Regions from separate parts of the Homo sapiens genome. Here region 1 is linked to region 2. Evidence: promoter capture Hi-C in human tissues and cell types (Jung and others, 2019). All regions are on one chromosome and are shown on one strand. The core of a region is centred on a gene start or on the middle of the fragment in contact, and the rest is flanking DNA. Distances in the headings are between cores, read along the strand shown. Region 1 holds the start of TMEM134 (transmembrane protein 134). Region 2 holds the start of RPS6KB2 (ribosomal protein S6 kinase B2).

Region 1 (6,301 bases), core at 3,802-6,301, 41 kb before region 2:
ATGCTGGCACAAGGCTTCCGACCCATTCATCTACTGACCTGGGTAATGAAAGTATCCTGTCTTTTGGACCCTTAGATCGGGTATCAGGAGATTTTTTTTTTTTTTTTTTTTTTTTTTTTGAGACAGAGTCTCGCTCTGTCACCCAGGCTGGAGTCCAGAGGCGAGATCTTGGCTCGTTGCAACCTCCACCTCCCGGGTTCAAGAGATTCTCTGCCTCAGCCTCCCAAGTAGCTGGGATTACAGGCGTCTGCCACCATGCCCAGCTAATTTTTGTATTTTTAGTAGAGACGGGGTTTCTTTTTTTTGTTCGTTTGTTTTTTGAGACGGAGTCTCGCTCTGTCGCCCAAGCTGGAGTGCAGTGGCGCGATTTCAGCTCACTGCAACCTCCACCTCCCGGGTTCACGCCGTTCTCCTGCCTCAGCCTCCCAAGTAGCTGGGACTACAGGGGCCTGCCACCACGCCCAGCTAATTTTTTGTATTTTTAGTAGAGATGGGGTTTCACTGTGTTAGCCAGGATGGTAGAGACAGGGTTTCACCATGTTGGCCTGGATGGTCTCGACCTCCTGACCTTGTGATCCACCCGCCTCAGCCTCCCACAGTTCTGGGATTACAGGCATGAGCCACTGCACCCGACCGGGTATCTGGAGATTTTTACCTCTCCAGTGCTAGGAAGGGGCTATGCCCATAAACTCAACAGGAAGCAGTTACAGAAGATGGATCTCTGCCCTTCCGCTGCCCTCTTAAGATTAAGAAGGAGTATCTAATCTCTGAGCGAGGAATGAGGTAGGTGGCAGGACTCAGCTCTGGAGGTGGGACACAGACACCAGACCAGATTGAGAACTAGCTAAAACAGGGAATGCTGCGCATGGTGGCTCATGCCTGTAATCCCAGCACTTTGGGAGGGTGAGGCAGGTGGATCACTTGAGGCCAGGAATTTGAGACCAGTTTGGCCAACATGGTAAAACACCATCTCTACTAAAAATACAAAACTTAGCTGGGTGTAGTGGCGGATGCCTGTAATCCCAGCTACTCCGGAGGCTGAGGCAGAGAATCGCTTGAACCCAGGAGGTGGAGGTTGCAGTGAGCCTAGATCGTGCCACTGCACTCCAGCCTGGACAACAGAGGGAGACTCCGTCTCAAAAAAATAAAACAGGGAAGAGGTGAAAGCACCTCTCCATAAGACCTAAGACCCGTAAGACCAGTGCATGTCAGTTTACCATTGCCATGGCAACACCTAGAAGTTACCACCCCCTTCGGTGGCAATGACCTGACGGCCCAGAAGTTACCACTCTTTCCCTAGAAATTTCTGGATAATTCACCCCTCAATTTGCATGTAATTAAAAGTGGGCATAAATATGGCTGCAGAACTGCCTCTGAGCAGCTGCTGGGGGCACACTGCCTGTGGGATGGCCCTGCTCCACAAGGAGCGACGCCTGTGCTGCTGCTGTGCGCTGCTGCTTCTGTAAAAGTTGCTTTCCAATAAGTAAAAAATAAGGCCAGGCACGGTGGCTCACGCCTGTAATCCCAGCACTTTGGGAGGCTGAAGTGGGCAGATCAACTGAGGTCAGAAGATGGAGACCAGCCTGGCCAAAATGGCGAAATCCTGTCTCTACTAAAAATACAAAAATTAGCTGGGCGTGGTGGCAGACGCCTGTAATCCAAGCCACTTGGGAGGCTGAGGCAGAAGAATCGCTTGAACCCAAGAGGCAGAGATTGCAGTGAGCCGAGATCACACCACTGCACTCCAGCCTGGGCGACAGAGCAAGGCTCAGTCTTAAAAAAATAAAAAATTTTAAAAAATGTTTAAGTTGCTGTCTAACACCACCAGCTCACCCTTGAATTCTTTCCCAGGTGAAGCCAAGCACTCTCTTGGGCTAAGCCCCAATTTTGGGGATCACCTGCCCTGCATCAGCCTTGCTACGCTGAGGCTGATCTTGAATTCCTGGCCTCAAGTGATCCTCCTGCCTCAGCTTCCCCAAAGTGCTGGGATTACAGACATGAGCCACTGCACCCAGCCTGAAAAGGAGTGATTATTCTTTGAGAGCATGTTAGACAAAGAGTCAAAGACAGACAGATAGGAAATATGTGCAAGGTCATAAACCAGCAAGGAATTAATGATTAGATATGTTGATATGCAAATTAGTGGAAAAAGGCTAGAAACCCAATAGCAAAAAGAAAGACCAAAGATATGAAAAGCCAGTTCACAGACAAGGGACACCCAATGGCTGACAAGGGCACAAAGAGCAGCTCAAACTCTCCAGCCATCAGAGAACCCAGAGGAACATGAGGTACCACTTTAAATTCATCAGATCGGCAAGCCATTAAAAAGTTGGATGGTACCAAGTCCTGAGAGAACCAGAAGCCTCAGGTGGAGTGTCAACTCTCACAGCCACTCAGGAGAGCATCTGTGGTACCCTGTGAAGTCATGAGTGCGTGTGCCCTATAACCTGGAAATCCTACCCCAAGGGGAATTCTCCCACAGTCCATAAGGGGACAGCAGGAAGATGTTAACTGCAGTGATGCCTGTGATGGCGGGGTTGAGGCCAGTTTGAGTGTACAACACTGTGGAGGTGAGGTGGATCATAAAGGTGCTAGACACTCAACATGGTACAACATGCATGTAGCCTGTAGAAACAATAAACAAATGCATATGGAAAACAGCATCGAGAGCAAAAATGTAAACGTGTAAGTAACAGAACTGAATTTTCTGCATGACATCATGTTTGTAAATTGCAAACACATCCACATAGGAGACAGTGCCATACATGGTACAGAGCCAGGCAGGCTTTAAGGACGCCGACTGAGCATGCTGACATGGGTCTGATGGAAGGCAGGGGAGAGGAAGGAACCTGGGAAGTGAAAGAGGGTAAGTGAATTAACATAACTCGAGAGGGGCCTTATTCATAGTGTTGATGTGTAACAAACAGAAGTAGACTTGACTCAGCTCTGTACATGAGGCCATAAAATGAACATGAGGCCGGGTGTGGTGGCTCATACCCAGCACCTTGGGAGGCCGAGGTGGGCAGATCACGCCTGTAATCCTAGCTACAGGGGAGGCTGAGGCAGGAGAATCGCTTGAACCCAGGGGGCGGAGGTTGCAGCAAGCCGAGATCTTGCCACTGCACTCCAGCCCGGGTGACGGTGCGAGACTCTGTCTCAAAAATAATAATAATAATAATAATAATAATAAGGCAGGGCACTGTGGCTCATGCCTGTAATCCCAGCCTCCTCGGGAGGCTGAGGCAGGAGAATCACTTGAACCCAGGAGGTGGAGGTTGCAGTGAGCTGAGATCGCACTCCAGCTTGGGCAACAGAGCGAGACCCTGTGTCGAAAAAAACAAAAACAAAAAAGAACTCTTGACTAAGGTCCATAAAGCTCTCAAGGCTCTGGGGCCCATCTACTCCTCCCAGGCTCATCAAGTCGGCCTGCCCCTTTCCTTGCTGCTCAGCCACACTGGTTTTCTCACATTCTTCCTCCACAGGCCAAGCTCCTTCCCACCTCCTGGCCTTTGAACGTGCTGTTCCCTGGTGCCAGGAAAACACTGAACCTTGCTTTTCTCACAGCTGGCTCCTTCATCATCGGCATTCCTGCTCAAATGTCACCTCTTGGAAAGGTCATCTTTGAGTACGAAATCTAAAGTCAGTTTTGCATCACACAGCACTTGAAACTGTCTCATTTTGCACTGTTTTATTCACCACTGTATCTATAGTGCCCAAAACAGTGTTTGGCCCTAAATAGATGCTTAATAAATACTTGTGGCAGAAATGAATGAGGGGTTTGCCAAAGTCCCAAGTACTTACAAGTGGTAGAATGGGGATTTGAAACCAGGTCCACCTAATTCATAGAGTACTTCTGCTCTTCCACCCCCACCGCCCCCCACCACGGTTCATTTTTTTTTTATGGAGTCTTGCTCTGTTGCCCAGGCTGGAGTGCAGTGGTGTGATCTCCACTCACTACAACCTCTGCCTCCAGGGTACAAGCGATTCTCCTGCCTCAGCCTCCCAAGTAGCTGGGATTACAGGCACTGGTCACCGTGCCCAGCTAATTTTTGTATTTTTAGTAGAGACTGGGTTTCACCATGTTGGCCAGGCTGGTCTCAAACTCCTGACCTCAAGTGATCCACTCTCCTTGGCCTCCCAAAGTGTGAGCCACCGTGCCCTGCCAAGAGTTCAGATTTTATTCTAAGTGCAATGGAAAACCAAGGGAAGGTTTTTTTGTTTGTTTTGTTTTGTTTTTTGAGACGGAGTCTTGCTCTGTCGCCCAGGCTGGAGTGCAGTGGCTCAATCTCGGCTCACTGCAACATCTGCCTCCCGGGTTCAAGCAATTCTTCTGCCTCAGCCTCCCAAGTAGCTGGGACTATAGGCATGCACTACCACGCCCGGCTAATTTTTGTATTTTTAGTAAAGACGGGGTTTCGCCTTTTGGCCAGGCTGGTCTTGAACTCCTGACCTCAAGTGATCCACCCGCCTCGGCCTCCCAAAGTGCTGGGATTACAGGAGTGAGCCACCGAGCCAGGCCAGCAGCAAAATTTTTAAAAAGGGTTTTCAGAATAACACACGCAGATAAAAAGATTTGTTTTAAAAGATCACTTCGGCTGCTGCGTGGAGACTGACTGGAAATTGGAAGACACATAAGCTCTCTGAGCCTCGGTTTCCACATTTGCAAAAATGGGGAGAGCACCCCTCCGGTGCGGGGCTGTTGTGAGTAAGGTGGGGAAACAGTTCCCAGGAGTCTCCTTGGCACTCGAGGAACAGGCTGCGGTGCAAAAGGCCCTGTCAGGGACCTGGAGGTTGGGGCGTGGAAGCCCCTCCAAGCCCCCGCACATACACGCCTGGGGGATGTGTCCGAGCCCGGCACGGGCTGTCGCTTGCCATGGCGGCCACTGAGTGGCGTCACGGGGCGGGCGCGCTCCGTCTGGAAGAGGCTCCCACCCATCAGCCCGCTCAGGGCTCGGCAACTCTGGCCTGCTTAGGGCGGACGGGGGCGGGACCGGCGCGTGGGGCGGAGCCAGGGTCGGAGGGGCGGGGCATGCGGGGGCGGGGCAGCGGCGACGCTGGGTGTGTGGGCGCAGATGGCGGCGGCGCACGGCGCCTGAGCGGGCCGGGGCCATGAGCGCCGCCCGGCCCCAGTTCAGCATTGATGATGCCTTCGAGCTGTCCCTGGAGGACGGGGGCCCTGGGCCCGAGTCCAGCGGGGTCGCGCGCTTTGGGCCGCTGCACTTCGAGCGTCGGGCCCGGTTCGAGGTGGCTGACGAGGACAAGCAGTCCCGGCTGCGCTACCAGGTGAACCGCCCGGCCCACCTAACCCCCTGCCCCCGGCCGGACGGGACCCCAGGCCGGGCCCCAAAGGCCTCAACTCGGGGAAGCATCTGCCTAGAGGCCCCAGCTGAAGCGCGAGACCGCCCCCCCGCCCCGCGGACGTGACTCTTGATCCAGAGCCCTGCCCAGGCCCTCCCGGTTCCCATACCGGGCCCCAGCCAGCCGGGAAGAGCCCAGTGCCCGGGCCCGGGAGCTCATCCCTCAGCTCCAGCTGGGGAACCCAACCGGATTCCCCACTCATCCTGGCTACTCGCACCTGGCCCCCGCTGGGTTGGGGGAGCTCCTCTGTATCTGAACCAGACCTTGCCCCACACGCAGGAGCATCCCCTGTGCCCCAGGCCAGCTAAGCTGATGGGAACCCGCACGCCTTTCTCTATTCTGAAAGCCCTCTCCCTAATCCCACCACCACCCCTAAGAGCTGGAGCTCCTCTCACATGACCAGTCCTTGCCCACCCTTTGGCTCCCACTAAACCAGAAAAACCCATTTTCCCAGAAAACCTCCACCAACCCTAGGCTGCTTTTCTTGGAGACCTGGACCAGAACCCTGTGCCTTGAACCTGGGAACTCTGGGCCTGGCCTTTCCTGGCACCCCAATTCCCAAGCTCCCATTCTAGGCCACTGAATGAGAGCTCCACCCTAACCCAAAGTTGGGAGCTCTCCTTTCCCTGGGATCTATGCAGGCTCCTGCTCCCCAAAGCCCTGGCATCCACCCACCTCCTACCTGGTTTCTGTGAATCACCAAACCCGTTCTGCGGGGAGGGCAGAGGGCCAGGTGAACAGCTGCCAGGCGGCCAGGCAAATGGTTGTGTAGGCCTGCTTTTCTCTTCCCGGGAGGGAGTGAGGAAGGGCCCCAGCCCAGCAACCCCCCTGAGACCTGTGTTCTGCAACAGAACCTGGAGAACGATGAGGATGGAGCCCAGGCCTCTCCGGAGCCGGATGGGGGAGTCGGCACCAGGTTAGGGCCAGGTGGGGACCCAACCCT
Region 2 (3,907 bases), core at 1-2,500:
ACAATACACATCACAACAGACAATAAACCAGCAAACGCCAAAGTCAGGGATCCTCCTCCACTGTGTTCCCTGCTGTCTTCCCAAAGCCTGGTACAGCATGTTGGGAATGGCAGCCACACAGTATTCGTTGGCTGAACGAGTGACTCACCTTCCTTAGGACTTTCATGGCATATATTTTGCCCAAGTTGGTGCCTTGCACCTTTCGCACCTGGAACACCTGTAGGGCAGGGGAGACAGGATCAACTTCCCTCTCCACATCCTATCTTCAAGAAGCCCCACCCTGAAGCTCTGGCTTTGGGATCAGGAGGCCTAGGCCCTGCCAAGGGTGGGGCAGTGAAGATTTCAAGTCCGATTGGAGAGGATTTGGCCTTCCCTCCTTTATGTTTCTGGCTCTGAATCCCATTAGAGGCCCTGCTGATTCACAAGTCTAATTTGTTTTGAGAACCCTTTGCTGCCTCCAGATGGAGGCTGTGAGGCCAGGAGGAGGGTGCGCCCGCCCCTACCTTGCCATAGCCCCCCTTGCCCAGCACACGCAGCAGCTCAAAGCAGTGGGGCCCGATGCGCTCTGGGCCAACGTTCACGCTGGTCTCAGTCAGCTCCACCTCTTCATAGTGTCCCACAGGCCTACGGACACAAGGAGTTAATGAGGACAAGGCTCCAGTGCTCCCCAGTTCCCCTTCCCCACTCCATTCCCCCCTCCCCCAACACGACCCTCACTCACTCTAGGCCAGCTGCCCTCAACTCGGCAAGGGGACATGCGTCCTGTGAGAAACCGAGGGGTAAGAGCCAAGGAAGGTGCCAGGATACCTCCCCGCTCCCGTTCAGGTTGGACTGCGTGGCCCAGGAGAGAAGGGTGTCAGGGATGGCAGCTAGTAGGGGATGGGTAAGAATTGGGAAGAAACCGAAGGCAGGAAAGGGAGAATCGGGAGAAAAGGCTGGGGTTCTGGAAGAGAGGTCGGGGTGAGGGTGGGATCAGAACTTAATAGAGACCGGGATCTGAGAAGGATCTGGGTCTGCAAAGAGTCGGAGCCCGCTCTGGGCGTGCGGAGCCGCCGCTCCGGCCTCGGCTGGGTGACAGGATCGGCTCCAGGATCCAGTCGCGCCAGGGCAGGGCACTCACCGCGGGGCTGAGCTCTGGCTCGCCCTCGCCCTCGCTGCCTTCCTCCGTCTCCAAATCCAAATCAAACACGGCCGCCATGGCGGCGCCGGCCCCGCGGGCCCGTCGGCCCGTACCTGGCCGCGCACTGACTGACAGTCCCGGACCTAAACATCATCTCTCCGCGACGGCAGCTGCGCGCGCCGGTGACGCAAGGGATCTTACTCCCCCTCCGGAAAATCGCTTAGCCTGGTGGGGAACAAAGATGGCTTCCGTCGCAAGGCCTCTCGGGAATTGTAGTCCTAGAGTGGCGAGGCGCCTAGCCTTCAGCCTGCAGAATCCTTTCCGCAGGACCCTCGGTCTTCCCAGCAAGGCTTTCTGGGAGCCCGTTTTGGTTCTACGGTGTTTTGAGTTTGGATGGAGCAGGGTCGGAAGTGTATGCAGGTGTGAATGTAAATGCAATCCCCAGCCCTGTTGGAGACGGGTACTGCCAGGCCGGCTGCGTGATGAAAGGCAGGTCGCGTTGCTTTCGGTTCACTCCAGAAAGGGAGGCGGCTGCATCAGGGTCTCCTCAAAGTGCCTCTGGCTCGAGGACCCTGCAAATCGGAGCATTTACTGAGTGGCCAGCTCACTGCCAGGCTATGTTGCCAGGTTCCCGCCTTAAATAGGGTTTTGGGGGTCAGTGATAGACCTGTAAATATGGGATTTTGTTGGCGTTTACTCCCTTCTTAATTTAAGCACATTTAGGCACCTGGTACAGAATAGACACTTCAAAAAACGTTGTTGAGGCCGGACACGATGCCTCACGCCTGTAATCGTAGCACTTTGGGAAGCCAAGTTGGGAGGATCACTTGAGGCCAGGAGTTCAAGGTTACAGTGAGCTATGATGGTGCCACTGCACTCCAGGCTGGGTGACACAGTGAGATCCTGTCTCAAAAAAACAAACAGGCCGGAGGCGGTGGCTCACACCTGTAATCTCAACACTTTCGGAGGCCGAGGTGGGTGGATCACTTGAGGTCAGAAGTTGGAGACCAGCCTGGCCAACATGATGAAACTCTGCCTCTACTATAAATACAAAAAATTAGACGGGTGTGGTGGCGCGCACCTGTACTCCCAGATACTCGGGAGGTTGAGGCAGGAGAATCGCTTGAACTCGGGCGATAGAGGTTGCAGTGAGCCAAGATTGCACCACTGCGCTCCAGGCTGGGCGGCAGAGTGAGACCAAGTCTCAAACAGATAAAACCCGAAAACCTGGCTGGTCACGGTGGCTCACACCTGTAATCCCAGCACTTTGGGAGGCCGAGCCAGGCGGATCACCTGAGGTCGGGAGTTCAGGACCAGCCTGACCAACATGGAGAAACCCCGTCTCTACTAAAAACACAAAATTAGCTGGGCATGGTGGTGCATGCTTGTAATCCCAGCTACTCGGGAAGGCTGAGGCAGGCGAATCACTTGAACCTGGGAAGCGGAGGTTGCGGTGAGCCAAGATCATGCCATTGTACTCCAGCCTGGGCAACAAGAGCGAGACTCCATCTTAAAAAAAAAAAAAAAAAAAAAAAAAAAAAAAAAAAAAACTTTATGGTTTTTTTTTCTTTGTTTTGTTTAGTTTTTCAGACAGGATCTTACTCTGTCACCCAGGCTGGAGTACAGTGGCAAGATCGTGGCTCATTGCAGCCTTGACTTCTTGGGTTCCAGTGATTCTCCCACCTCAAATCCCAAGTAACTGGAATGACATAATCACATAATCTTTTTTCTTTTCTTTCTTTCTTTCTTTTTTTTTTTTTTTAGAGGGGAGGTCTTGTTTTGTTGCCCAGGAGGCTGGTCTTGAACTTCTGGACTCAAGTGATCCTCCTGCCTTGGCCTTCCAAAGTGCTGTGATTACAGGCATGAGCCACTACACCCAGCAAAAACCAAAAACGCTGTTGACAGAATGAACTTAGGCCAGGCAGGGTCGCTCATGCCTGCGATCCCAGCAATTTGGGAGGCCAAGGCGGGTGGATCACTTGAGGTCAGGAGTTCAAGACCAGCTTAACCAACATAGTGAAAACCTGTCTCTACTAAAAATACAAAAATTAGCCGGGAGTGGTGGTGCATGCCTATAGTCCCAGCTACTTGGGAGGCTGAGGTAGGAAAATCGCTTGAACCTGGGAGGCAGAGGTTGCAGTGAATCAAGATCACGCCATTGCACTACAGCCTGGGCAACAGAGTGAGACTCCGTCTCCAAAAAAAGAAAAAAAAAGAAAGAAGGAATGAACACACTCAACACAGCAAATCTTGTCTGTGACATGTGGTCTGTGACTTTAGATTGGGTATGGATTTGGCGGGGCGCGGTGGCTCACACCTGCAACCCTAGCACTTTGGGAGGTCGAGCCGGGTGGATCGCTTGAGGTCAGGAGTTCGACACCAGTCTGGCCAACATGGTGAAACCCCGTCTCTACTAAAAATACAAAAATTAGCTGGGTGTGGTGGTGGGTGCCTGTAATCCCAGCTACTTGAGAGGCTGAGGCAGAAGAATCACTTAAACCCGGGAGGCAGAGGTTTCAGTGAGCCGTGACTGTGCCATTGCACTCCAGCCTGGGCAGCAAGAGTGAAACTGTCTCAAAAAAAAAAAAAAAGATTGGGTATGGATTCTTATTGGATGGGGATGTGTGGGTGTGAATTTGGGTCAGACCAGGCCTTGGGTGTGAGTTCTGATTGTTGGAGGCTGTCTAGGTGTGCCTTCCATGTGCATAGGGGAGGTTGGGTATGAACTGAGGTGGACAGAATTCAGGGGTCTCCAGGCATGCAGAGGGTTATCTCGTTGAATGTGGC

The links. Contacts are between HindIII fragments. The study calls those that stand out against the background at their distance.
Region 1: the fragment with the promoter of TMEM134 here is called in contact with the fragment with the promoter of RPS6KB2 in region 2 in 1 of the 25 tissues and cell types used here (spleen).

Annotation. Positions count from the first base shown.
Region 1 is chr11:67,468,001-67,474,301 of GRCh38, reverse strand. TMEM134 (transmembrane protein 134) reads left to right here and starts at 5,051. Exons shown (of 7, transcript NM_025124.4): 1 at 5,051-5,283; 2 at 6,210-6,274. The coding sequence starts at 5,110. RefSeq lists enhancers at 4,647-4,826, 4,815-5,439 and silencers at 4,977-5,116, 5,327-5,466. The HindIII fragment of the contact is 18,331 bases long and covers 1-6,301 here.
Region 2 is chr11:67,425,837-67,429,743 of GRCh38, reverse strand. RPS6KB2 (ribosomal protein S6 kinase B2) reads right to left here and starts at 1,250. Exons shown (of 15, transcript NM_003952.3): 1 at 1,121-1,250; 2 at 722-762; 3 at 504-624; 4 at 149-217. The coding sequence starts at 1,198. RefSeq lists enhancers at 5-772, 1,207-1,456, 773-1,540, 1,557-1,706. The HindIII fragment of the contact is 10,585 bases long and covers 1-3,907 here.